Linked DNA regions of Homo sapiens: all the other regions are linked to region 1. Evidence: promoter capture Hi-C in human tissues and cell types (Jung and others, 2019). All regions are on one chromosome and are shown on one strand. The core of a region is centred on a gene start or on the middle of the fragment in contact, and the rest is flanking DNA. Distances in the headings are between cores, read along the strand shown.

Evidence for each region. The method cuts DNA at HindIII sites, captures the fragments that hold promoters and counts their contacts. A contact is called where the count stands out against the background at its distance.
Region 2: a contact is called between a fragment that was not itself captured here and the fragment with the promoter of ABHD17B in region 1, in 1 of the 25 tissues and cell types used here (lymphoblastoid cells).
Region 3: a fragment that was not itself captured here is called in contact with the fragment with the promoter of ABHD17B in region 1 in 1 of the 25 tissues and cell types used here (dorsolateral prefrontal cortex).
Region 4: a fragment that was not itself captured here is called in contact with the fragment with the promoter of ABHD17B in region 1 in 1 of the 25 tissues and cell types used here (lymphoblastoid cells).

What each region holds. Positions count from the first base shown.
Region 1 is chr9:71,909,686-71,912,585 of GRCh38, forward strand. ABHD17B (abhydrolase domain containing 17B, depalmitoylase) reads right to left here and starts at 1,508. Exons shown (of 4, transcript NM_001025780.3): 1 at 949-1,508. It overlaps C9orf85 (chromosome 9 open reading frame 85), which reads left to right and starts at 1,954. Exons shown (of 4, transcript NM_182505.5): 1 at 1,954-2,151. The coding sequence starts at 2,050. RefSeq lists a silencer at 1,032-1,271 and enhancers at 1,722-2,031, 2,102-2,151, 2,162-2,221. The HindIII fragment of the contact is 8,289 bases long and covers 1-2,900 here.
Region 2 is chr9:70,316,854-70,319,753 of GRCh38, forward strand. SMC5 (structural maintenance of chromosomes 5) reads left to right here. Exons shown (of 25, transcript NM_015110.4): 14 at 1,661-1,834; 15 at 1,941-2,110. Among named protein-coding and RNA genes, the nearest start is that of SMC5, 59 kb to the left of the region's middle. The HindIII fragment of the contact is 6,146 bases long and covers 1-2,900 here.
Region 3 is chr9:70,477,569-70,480,468 of GRCh38, forward strand. The region is part of intron 3 of KLF9-DT (KLF9 divergent transcript); the gene reads left to right. Among named protein-coding and RNA genes, the nearest start is that of KLF9, 64 kb to the left of the region's middle. The HindIII fragment of the contact is 4,412 bases long and covers 1-2,900 here.
Region 4 is chr9:73,115,680-73,118,579 of GRCh38, forward strand. No RefSeq gene overlaps it. Among named protein-coding and RNA genes, the nearest start is that of ANXA1, 35 kb to the right of the region's middle. The HindIII fragment of the contact is 6,511 bases long and covers 1-2,900 here.

The DNA of each region.
Region 1 (2,900 bases), core at 258-2,757:
CATATATCACAAAAAGTATTAAACAGGAACACATTTCATAAACAGCGAAATTTAAAGGTCACCCTCTGTATTCCGTTATTCATCCTTTTGCTTACCAAATCTACTTCACACTGACTTAAAGCATCATTTACAAAAAATTCTCTTCTGGCATTGGCAGAGATCTCACCAAAGATCAAAGATCTGAACTTTTTTTTTTTTTAAACAAAAACCCCAGGTTAAATACACTCTTTCCTTCACGAGAGCCCCCACACAGTACAATCTAATTTGACATAACTTTGTTTCGGGGTTAAAAAAAATCCCAAACAAAACCTTTAAATTTTCCAATTCAAAAACGATTCCTGATAAGCCTACCTTAGAGTTCGAAAACAAATAAGATTAAAGCCCAACCATCTAAAGAAAAAGAACCCTACGACAGCCCCACCGGAATACACAAATCGCCAAGCCCCGTGCAGATTCAATCTAAAATCGCGCCCGACAGAGATATAAGGACATTCAGGAGAAAGCTTTTAGGCACCCGCGAATCTCTCAGTGCGCCAGTGAGGGGAATGGGAACCTGACCCCATCTTTTCATCCACTGAGAGAAAAGCAAAGGAAATGAAATGGAACCCTTCTCTTCACCGAGGAGGACCAAAGACCTTCTTAGAGTGTCGGTCGGTCCTCCCTCCCCCACCCCCTGACTCCGGCCGCTCCACGGACCGCAGGGACTGTCCTACCGCTCCCCTTCACGCAACCATCAGAGAATCCTCTCAAAAACACAGACCCGATGAGGAGTGGCTTCCCCGCCTTTCCCCTGTGCCGAGAAGGGATCCCGGTCGCCAACAACAAAGACGCTTCCCGCTCCCCTCCCCCCGCCGGCCCGGGCTCGTCCCTCCCGCGCTGCGGCTCCCGGCCTAGCGCCCCCTCCCCGAGCCGGGCTGCGGCGTCCCCAAACCCCGAGGCCGCACGCACCTGCACCTGAGCGGCCCGGGCCGAAGCGCCGGGCAGAAGGGGTCGAGAGAGAACCGCAGCCGACGCGCTGTCCTCCACAAGGCGAGATCCGCGCTCCGGGCGCCGTCCGACTCTCTCCGCCTGCAGACTGGCCCGACAGAGGAGCGGGGACCAGGGCTACAGCCCCCGGCGCCGGGGCGAAGAAGGACGGCGGCGCCCCAGGGGCCCCGCTCACGCTCCCGAGTCTCGCCTCGCGCCGGCCCTGCTCCTCCACAAGAGCTCGCGTTCTGCTGACTAACGGCCCCGGTGCGGGGCGCTGGAGCGGCCGCCGCTGCCCGTCGGTTGCTCTCGGGCCTCACGTCCCGCGCGGCCGTGGTCGCAGCCGCCGCCGCCACCGCCTCCCTTTCTGGCACTGCAGACGCCACCCAGACCTAGCCAGGTCTTCCTTCTCTTTAATCCTGCTTTCTTTGCTCCTCCTCAGCCTGCCAAGCGCGAGGCTCGTTCCGGTAGCGGGAGGAAGACTGGAGGGGAACGGAGGGGACGAGCACAATCCCCACTGAGCCAGGAGTTGGCCACTGACTGGAGGAAGGTGCCAAAGCTGACCCCGGCTCCAGCCTACTAGCGGGCGGGGGGAGAGACGGAGCCCAGCCTTGCCTCACTTCCACCAATCAGAGGCCGCCCGGCAGGGTGGGAGGCGCTCTGAGCTCAAGGAGAGGCTGAGCTCGCTCAGCAGGAGGCGGGGATTGCGGAAAAGAAGAACCAATAGGAACAAAGGTTCCCCGCCCCTTTGATTTGATGGACTACACATTCGGGCCAATGGGGGAATTCTCATTTCGAAGAAAGTGGGACTTGTTCTCCGGGTTTGAGAAAGAGGCTGCGCGGAGCCGGAGGGGTCGAGGCTGCGCCGCGTGGAGTGGCTTGGCTTAACAGCAGGGAGGGCAGAGCGATGCTCTTTGACCTCCCAGAAGAGTCACGTGGGCTGACCCAGAGCCGGGGCGGAAAGGCTGCGTTTGTTTCTTCCGGGTCATTGACAGAAGCGTCAATTCCTGGGAGTAGTTCGTTGGTTTTCTTTCCCCTCATCCTTTTGCCTGCTCCCGGCGAGGGGTGGCTTTGATTTCGGCGATGAGCTCCCAGAAAGGCAACGTGGCTCGTTCCAGACCTCAGAAGCACCAGAATACGTTTAGCTTCAAAAATGACAAGTTCGATAAAAGTGTGCAGACCAAGGTAGGAACCTGCCTGTTGCACCGTCTTTGACTCCAGGAAGGAATGGCTCACTGGAGAGGGGAGAGAGGAAATGAGAGGAGTCGGCTGGGGCGAGTGTGGACCGCAGCCCAGAGTTAGTCTTGGCTGCAGTGCAACTCTTTCTAAAATGTTATTCTCACGCCCTTTCTTTGACCTGGACATGTTGTCTCCTGGTAAATATTTGATGGTCAGCACACTTAACTAATTGCACAGAGTGAACAGGACCCTAATGAAATCTAAGGTGCAGATGGGGCAGTTACGTCGTTCAGCGTTCCCATCTGGATCACATTAGCAGAGGGAAACGAGGATTGTGGCATGAGTGGCTTTTTCAAATTTTACACCAAGTTTATGCAGCTACGATTTTTTTTTCCAAAAACCCCAAGCCCATAGAGGAAATGTGAATGATTAAGCTGTCTTAGGCTGTCCTCACTAGTATTGTGTGAAATTTCTGTTTTGTAACAATTGTTTTGAAGATAAAAATATTTGGTTAATGTAAAAATACTTGTTTTGCTGTTTATCTTTAGCAGGACTTCTGTAAAGTCCTGCTAAAAAATTCAGACTGTCTAGATAGCCAGAGGACTTGGGTTGTATATAAGTACTAATTTGCAGGCCGGGCGCCGTGGCTCAAAGTGCTGTAATCCCAGCACTTTGGGAGGCCGAAGCGGGTGGATCACCTGAGGTCAGGAGTTCGAGAACGACCTGGTCAACATGGCGAAACTCCATCTGTACTA
Region 2 (2,900 bases), core at 234-2,733, 1.6 Mb before region 1:
AATTCATATAATTTATATTAAAAGTGAAATTCTTTTCTTCCCATTTCTTTTTCAGGTGTTTTCATTAATCTTAATCTCTTTGGTTTTATATACTATATTTTTTAAATTCTCAAACATATCAAATACCTTACTGTCCCAATGCCTAACTCAGTTCTATGTTGTATATAAATAATTTATGATGATATACTTTTCAGACATCTGTATGTACAAGAAAACCCAAGTTAGAAAGTATTTCAAGTACCTAGTAAAGATTATCTTAGCTATCTTTCAGAAGATATAAACCTTTATTGAGGAAATTTACTACCTTTATATCCTCAATCCTTCTGTTTGAGACAATAATGGCTAGATAATGGCAATAATGGCTGTATCTCTTCCTCAGAATAAAAGTATACTCTTTATGTTTTCTTTTATTATTAACTCTTAACATTTTAGGTTATCTAACAGTATATCCTATTTATGGAATTGTTCTCTCATTAATTTCTAAGATTCTCCCTTTGGTTAAATTGTCTGCTGACTTCTTTAGCTTGAGATGTCACTTTTATGGGAAGTGCTCTTCCTTCACTCTGTCAGTTCAAATCCAGTTTAAAACTCATTTTTAGGAAACTTGGGTAGGCTAAAGTCATCCAGTCTATCCCTTTTTTTCAGATTAGTCGGATTGTAGGATTTATGCCCTGTTGACCTAGTGTGCTTAAATATGTCTTACTTCTTCACTTAGACTATAAACTTCTGGAAGGAAACAAGCTACAGTAGTATTACAATAGTATCTGAAGGTTTTTAGAGATTGGAAACAACCTCTAAAAATGCTCTGCATTGCAGCAGCCTACTCTATAAATATACAGAAATAGATCAAATAGTGGTATGGTTGTGGTATTTATAATATATTTTAGTTTATGAAATCCATGTATAAATTCTTCAGAGAAAAGTTCTAAAAAACTTTAAAAATAAGAAAAGGCTTTGAAATCTATGAAAAATGTTTCATTTGATTATTCTTCCCAAATATACAGGAACTAAATATAAGATTATGTATCTTTGAACAGTATAACTGAGAGGAGGGGAGAGTAAATGACTTACCCAAGATAACAGTTCAATGTGCTGAGCACTCTTCTCTCCTGCTATCTCTTCTTTAGATGTAACAAAGCTCCAAAACTACTTGGGAGAGTTGTATAGTAGCGTAGAAGTATAGCTGACTTTGCTAGTTGTATGGGCCGCCTTTTTTGAAATTTTGTTGGATAGGTTAAAAAAAAAATTGCTAGATGCAGTGGCTCACATCTGTAATCCCAGCACTTTGGAAGACCCAGGCGGGAGAATCTCAGAGGCAGGAATTCAAGACCAGCGCCCCCATAGGAAGCATGGAAAAACTCCATCTCTACAAAAATTTTTTTTAATTAACCAGGCGTGGTGGCACATGCCTGTAGTCCCATCTACTCAGGAGGCTGAAGTGGAAGGATCACTTGAGCCTGGGGGGTTGAGGCTGGAGTAAGCTGAGTTCGTGCCACTGCATTCCAGCCTGGGTGACAGAGTGAGACCCTGTCTAAAAAAAAAAAATGTATATCTCGTATATTTTGATCTTCCAAAATTCACTTGGTCTGTATTTCTAATTTAGTACTTTAAAACATATAATTTATATTAGATGTGCACTAATAGTTGTTTTACGTTATAGGTAATACAAGAAACCCGATTAAAACAGATTTATACAGCAGAAGAAAAGTATGTGGTGAAAACTTCTTTTTATTCAAACAAAGTTATTTCTAGTAACACATCTCTAAAAGTAGCGCAGTTTCTCACTGTCACTGTGGACCTAGAGCAGAGAAGACACTTAGAAGAACAGCTAAAGGTTGGTTAATTTGATCTGAATGTTAGAAAAGAATATTAACTGGATTTCTAATAGTTTCACTGGAACAGTTTTTTAAATATGTTAACAATTTTTAAATATTTTATAGGAAATTCATAGAAAATTGCAAGCAGTGGATTCAGGGTTGATTGCCTTACGTGAAACAAGCAAACATCTGGAGCACAAAGACAATGAACTTAGACAAAAGAAGAAGGAGCTTCTTGAGAGAAAAACCAAGAAAAGACAACTGGAACAAAAAATCAGTTCCAAACTAGGAAGGTATCTTTTAGCCTATTCAGGGGGGAGAGCACAAATTACTGTATGGGAGAATATTAATTATACACTGTAATAACAACAGCATTTCCACAAGCACGCTTTGTAGTAATTTCTCTTTAATCTTTAATCTTACTGCATAAAACACAATTTTATTCCATAGGGCAAAAGGAGATGAATCTTGAGTGTTGCAAGTTCTTCTGTTCTTCCAGTCTCTGGACTCCTTTATATGCTTAAAAATTAATGAGGACCTTGAAGAGGTTTTGTTTACATGGATTGTATTTATTGATATTTACCATATTAGAAATTAAAACTGAGAATGTTTAAAATATTCATTAATTTATTTTTTTTTAGGTGGAGATGGGGCAGTAATTCATTTTAAAAATAAACCCATTATGTGTTAACATAAAAATGTATTAAAAATAGCTGTTTTCCAGACAAAATACATTTAGTGAGAAGAGTGGCGTTTTACATTTTTGCAGATTTCTTTAGTTGAAGTCAGTAGGTTTTTCCCTACTTAATTCTGTATATTGAGTTTGTAGTGAGATGTTTGAGTTGAAGTATATGAAGGAAATCTGGCTTCCCATAAATATGCAGTTGGAAAAGGAGGAGTATTTTAGACTTTTCAGGTAATTGTGGATATTATTCTTTAATACTACATCAAAATTTGCCAAAGTGTAGTTTATTAAAGTTTAATTGCAGTGTGGAATCTGAAACCATATCAGTGAACTTGTGTACTCTGTTACATTAAAATCCATTGCACTTTAGATGGCGCTTTTACTTGTAAATGATTTAG
Region 3 (2,900 bases), core at 265-2,764, 1.4 Mb before region 1:
TGAGGGCAGGAGACATGCTTAACTCACCTTTCTATCCCCTATAGAACATAGTAGAAGATCTTGTGGATGTTCAATAACTATTGCTGATTATGTATACTGAGATAGGGTAAACTACATGAGACTGGAGAGTGGGACTTGGTCTCAGAACTTCAACTTGAGATCTCAGTCTCTAAAAAATCAAGATAAATATACAAGATGATTCTACCTGTATTCTAATAAGAGTCTCTGGAGCACAATTCTGAAAAACATTTTCTTTTGAAAAAACTTTTTTAAAAATGAAAGAAGATTCTTGCATACAGGGAGGCAGAATAGTGTAATCAAAGGAATCTGGGCTTTCAACCTTGGATAGACTTGGGTTTAAGTGCCAGCTCTGCCATGTCCATGGCTGCATGATCTCGGACAAGTTATTTAAGCTCTTTGAGTCTTGGTTTCTTATCTATAACAGGGATGATATCAACACCTACTCTACAGGATTACTGTGGGGTTGAAATGAGAGAATGTATGTAAAGTACTTGATACATTATGTGTGATCAACAAATGTCATTCTGTTAGGTCTTTGCTCCCACCAGGTGTGTGTGGGTTGGTGCAAACTCTTGCTTAATTCTCTGAGAACTCCCCTTCATTTACTCCTTCTGAGATCTTGGTTACATGCCCAGTCCCTGGATTTATTTAGCTTGGTCCAGGTCAGATCCTTAAGGTTTTGCATTTACTGCCCCAGGCACACTCTGGCCTGAGAAATTCCATCTACGACTGGCTGGAGTTGGCACTAGCCCTTGGCAAATAACTTCAATTGGGAGAGAAGTGTTTTTGAGACAGGCTCTTTGCTGCCAAAATTTTAAATAGGGCCTTCTGTGAGGGAGGTCTGGTCAGGGAAGTGAAGGGAGGTGATCTCCCCAGGGAAGAAAAAACTTAAGGCCAGGCATGGTGGCTCAGGCCTGTAATCCCAGCACTTTGGGAGGCCAAGGTAGAAAGAGCCCAGGAACTCCTCAAGACCAGGAGTTTGCTTGAGCTCAGGAGTTCGAGGCTAGCCTGGGTAACGTGGCAAAACCCCCGTCTCTACAAAAAACTAAAAAATTAGCTGAGCATAGTGGCGTGCACCTGTGGTTCTAGCTACTTGGGAGGCTGAGGTGGGAGGATTGCTTGAGCCCAGGAGGTTGAGGCTGCAGCAAGTCATGATCACTCCACTGCCCTCCAGCCTGGGTGACAGAGTGAGACCCTGTCTGGAAAAAAAAAAAAAAAAAGAATTTAAGATATCCCAGTGACCAGTTCCAAGAAAGCCCCACCTGGGCCTGAGCACTGGCTCTAATGACAGGCGATTGATTACTCTTTGAACTCTGGGATCTGTCAGTGATGGTGGCAGGGGAGTCTGCGAAATTATCCTCAGTGACTGACTCCTTGGGCCACAGGCTGGGGCATGGTGTGGTGGTCCAAGGGCTTGTGTTCTACTGGACTCTTGGACCTGTGAACTTGTGTTTAGGGGTGGAAGTATTGTCCCTGACTAAGTCCTTGAGGCCAGCTCCCTCCTCCTCTCCCATGTAGCTACAGCTGTGGTGTGGCATGGCCAACCTCCCCAAAGGTGCTTGTGTAACTTGTTTTTCAAAGTCTTGGCAGGAGCTCTGGTCCTGAAGTGAGAAAGGGAAAGGGTGTTTACATTCTGGAAGAACAGTTCTGAGAAGTGTCTCACATCAGGGCTGTCCCTGAACAATCCTTGTTCCCCAGTATCTCTGGAAGCTTCTTTTCCTATGGGATGGCTGGTCACAATCATAGAGATGATCTTGGACCTAGAGGAAACAAGCTTGAACATGACAGAAGGTAGGCAGTGAGGAAGCGCTGGTCTGCCACCCAGGGTTTGCTGCCCTGTGTAAACTGCCCTCCCTGGAAAGGTGAGGAAGCTCTCCAGGACAAGACTGTTGTTGCCCCAGTGCCTCCTGCCGTGCCTGGAATAGAGCACAGGGCTACAAACAGGTGCTCCATAGACATTCACTAAGTAAATAAATTGTGAAAATACGTGGGCAAGAAAACATTTCAGAGGTCACATTGGTGCAAATTCTTAATTGACACCAGGTTAACAGCTTTCTCTGAATAGTACTTACATTAATAATAACAATGGTTACTATTTATTAAATACCTAGTGTCTGCCAAGCAAAGGGAGATATTATTTCCTTAAATCCCACAATAGTTCTACTAATAGGTAGACTCTCCCCAGTTAATAGCTGACAGCGCAGAGACTCATGGGCACAAATCTGAGAAACTTGCCTGAGGTTCACCCAACAAATTAGGATTCAAAGCCACTGCCTAGGAGGCCCTGATTATCCTCTTTCTGTTTCTCTGTGAGGCCCCTCTGTGCCCTGCTCACCTCCTGCTGGTCTCTGCTCCTGCCACAGCAGCGGGGAAACAGGAACCTTTAAAGAAGGCTGAGGTGCAGTTCCATCCCTCCTGGGGCGGGCAGTTGTGCATTCTTGCCATTTTTTTCCTCTTGCAAATAGGCTTGAAGTCAACGTAGAAAGGGCAATGCAAAAGCAGCCCCGTTCCAGATGTCTGCTTTGTCATACTTTAAAACACCCACCCATATTCAGGCCTGTCCATCCTTCATTCTGGCAGCCCTCCCCTCCCGCCTTGCCACCTGTCTCCATACACAGCTTTCCCTTTTCCTGTCCTTCCTCTTCTGATGGGTGTGAGGGCCAGATTTCACTTCACTAGAACAACCTTGCTACTAGTATTATTCTAGGGACAGGCCCTGGCACAAAATAAACACTCGATAAGTATGTGTTGAATTGCACTTTAAATTCTAGACAAAGGAGGAAAAAGCTTTGGATCCAGAAGAAAATAGAAAAGCTGGGAGTGGGGGTTAGGGTAACAATGAACTTGATCCTCTATCCCCTCTTTCCTCCCTCACTGCC
Region 4 (2,900 bases), core at 256-2,755, 1.2 Mb after region 1:
TTCTAAAATCTTTCCAAATCTCTTCCTTCAACCCAGCCCAGTCTTTTCCCTCTCTCTTGTCTTTGCACTGCTACCCTTCCTTTGTTACAAATAATTCCCGGCTCTGAGCAGTGAAAATCAATCTGGTGGATTTCAGCTGACAGGTATTACTTTTCCCTTCCACACTCACTACTCCAGGCCATACAAACAAGAAAAAAATTCTCACATGTGAGTAATGTGAGAAGTTGTAAGTATTCATCTGTCATTTTTCTTGTATTATAGCAAGGGATAATGTGTTTAAAAGAATACTATATTTAAAAGCAAGTGTTAAAGAACTATAAATAAGAAAGAAATATCTTATTATTATCACTTTATAGCATGACTCTGGTTTTTCATATTCCAAAAGATACCTTTAAGACTTATGTTGCTTTGGGTGTTGAAAATTCCTAGGTTTGTAATAGTCTTATAAGTTTAGAGCAGCACTTGGATATTTTGTTTGCTGCTACTGGTTTTGAAGTATTTGACAGCTCAGCGTTTCTGTCTCTGCTAATCTATGCTTAGCTCTAGCTAACTGCCTATTCCCTCTGATTCATTGCATGAAAGAGAAACAGTGGCTTTCTTAGTCATAAACCTGACTTCATATATCTTGACTGAAACTAAGGGATTCAAGATTCACAGCAAAATTATAAATGTAATTCATGGTTTCTCTGACTGCACTTTTCCCAGTCATGAGGTTTGGCCCTCACAGAGGCAAGGATATTTATCTTCCTTTAAGTATTTTCAAACCATGTACTAGTTCTATTTAAACTAAAATCTGCAGGCCTATTAAAATCGTTTTAGAGCCTTGTTTCTGCTAGGAATATCTAGTATGGATTGTTTCCAGTTTTAGAAATCAAGCCCTTTCTACTTCTGGACTATTTGAATACACATCTGAAGCAAACACATTAAAACATACTAACAGTGTCTTTTATGTAGCAATGAGACAATGAATCAATAATTTGTGCCATCTATTTCATGCTCAATTAAAAATATTTGAAATTATTTTCTATATGGCAGAATTTTACAATTGGGAAGATCTTCTTTAATAAAAAAACTTGATGGATGAAAGTTTATTCTGTACTGTGAAAAAAATGGTCACTCAGGTCTATTAGGAAAACACCTATTGACCATGGGGTAAAAATAACCTCAGCAGGGTTTTTGTAGATTCTAAAGGAAAAGAGGAGAAAATGATTAGGAGTAAGATCAAGTCTGTTGTTGGGAAAATTAGCTGTTATGTTGAAAATGTACTGCAACTTTTAAATTGGATAGACACATTTCTAACCACGTAATCTCATTCTTATTCATATAATCATGTAATGCTCATACCTGGGTTGTAATGCCCTTTTCTTTTAAACCACAGTAGGATTCTAGGAAACTTAGATCTCCAGAACATCCTCCATAGGAGAGCTTAGTTCTGAAGCACTCATCTTCACTAGGATATCAGTAAAGACAGATGGGTTATGCTATGGAAACAAATCTCAACACTCAGGGCTTATTGCATACAAATTTACTCCTCTCTTGCCCACACAAAGTCATTTGTGGTTCAAGTAACTCTCTAGGACAGCTTCCTTCCAAACAGTGACTTGGAGATCCAGGTCCTTTTCTTTTTTTTCTTTTTAAATCTTCTAGCATTATCTTTTGGGACTGCAGTGATCACCATGGCAAGGGAAGAGAAATAACTCACACCGCCTCTTAAATGCCTCATCTCATAGGTGATATATTATTGCTGTTCATATCCCATTGGTCAGGGTAGTCTTGTTGTCCCAAAATAACTACATGGAGACTGGGAAATGTGGAAAAGAGCATAGGGATATTTGGTGAGTTCTACGGTTTGTACCTCAGTCCACTTGCCCCTCTACATCCTCACCTGGGAAGAGTCCAGACACACCTCCCTTGACACAATTCCTAGCTCCCTCTTCTCTCAACACAACTCTTAAACCAACCCTTGCTGACGGTGGTGCTACAAGAGCTTTGCCTTGATACCTGTGGTACAGGGGAAAGGGAGCTGTTCTTGAGAGCTACCAAATCACAGCTGACTTTGGGTGAACAAGATATAAAGCTTTATATATTAAGCTGATGAGATTTCAGGGTTCATTTCACTACCACAATATAATCTATCTTATCCTGAATAATATAATTGAGTAGAAAATGTCTTCTTTCTTGTGTTGCCTCTCCAAATCACCAACTTTGCCATACATTCTACCATTTGTATCCTTGAATCATCCCTCAGATTTATTAGAAACTTTTACAACAATCTTGGCTCTGTACTGATTCACAGCTTTGTCCTGGCTCTTCCTAGTTTGATGCTTTCTCCTGCCTCTTCTCAGTTCAATGCTTTCTGACATTTTTATTTTTCTATAGGAACATGTTTTCTTGTTGCCAAAGAGAAGCAGGAAAATATTGATCTGTAGGCAACTCTCAGTAATTAGGACTATAATTAGATCTCATCAAAACTGTTCATGCTAGATAAATTTGATGACATTGGAAAGTTTATGCCTGATTAGATTATTTAATTTCTCTAGTATTATTGCTGTTACTGAGAACTCATAAGCGGAAATTCTTATGAAGGCAAAAGAATATATTTAAAGCCATGCTTTTGAAGGTGTGTTAAAACCTCAAAGATTACCTTTTAAAAACCCTGAGCATTAAATACCAGGATTCATGTATATTTTGGATTAAAGTTTCATCTTACCAAGCAATTAATCATAGCTTACCCTGTCTGTATTCTCTATTGCTTTTAATTCTTTTAGTCACACTGGGTGGGTAATTTTTTGTTTCACCAGGAACAATTCCAGGCAAGGGAGCACCAGGGGAAGTGACTACTTGTGTCATGCCTCTGATGACAAATCTTTTTAGGTAACCTTCAGCTCCTTCAGAGAGTC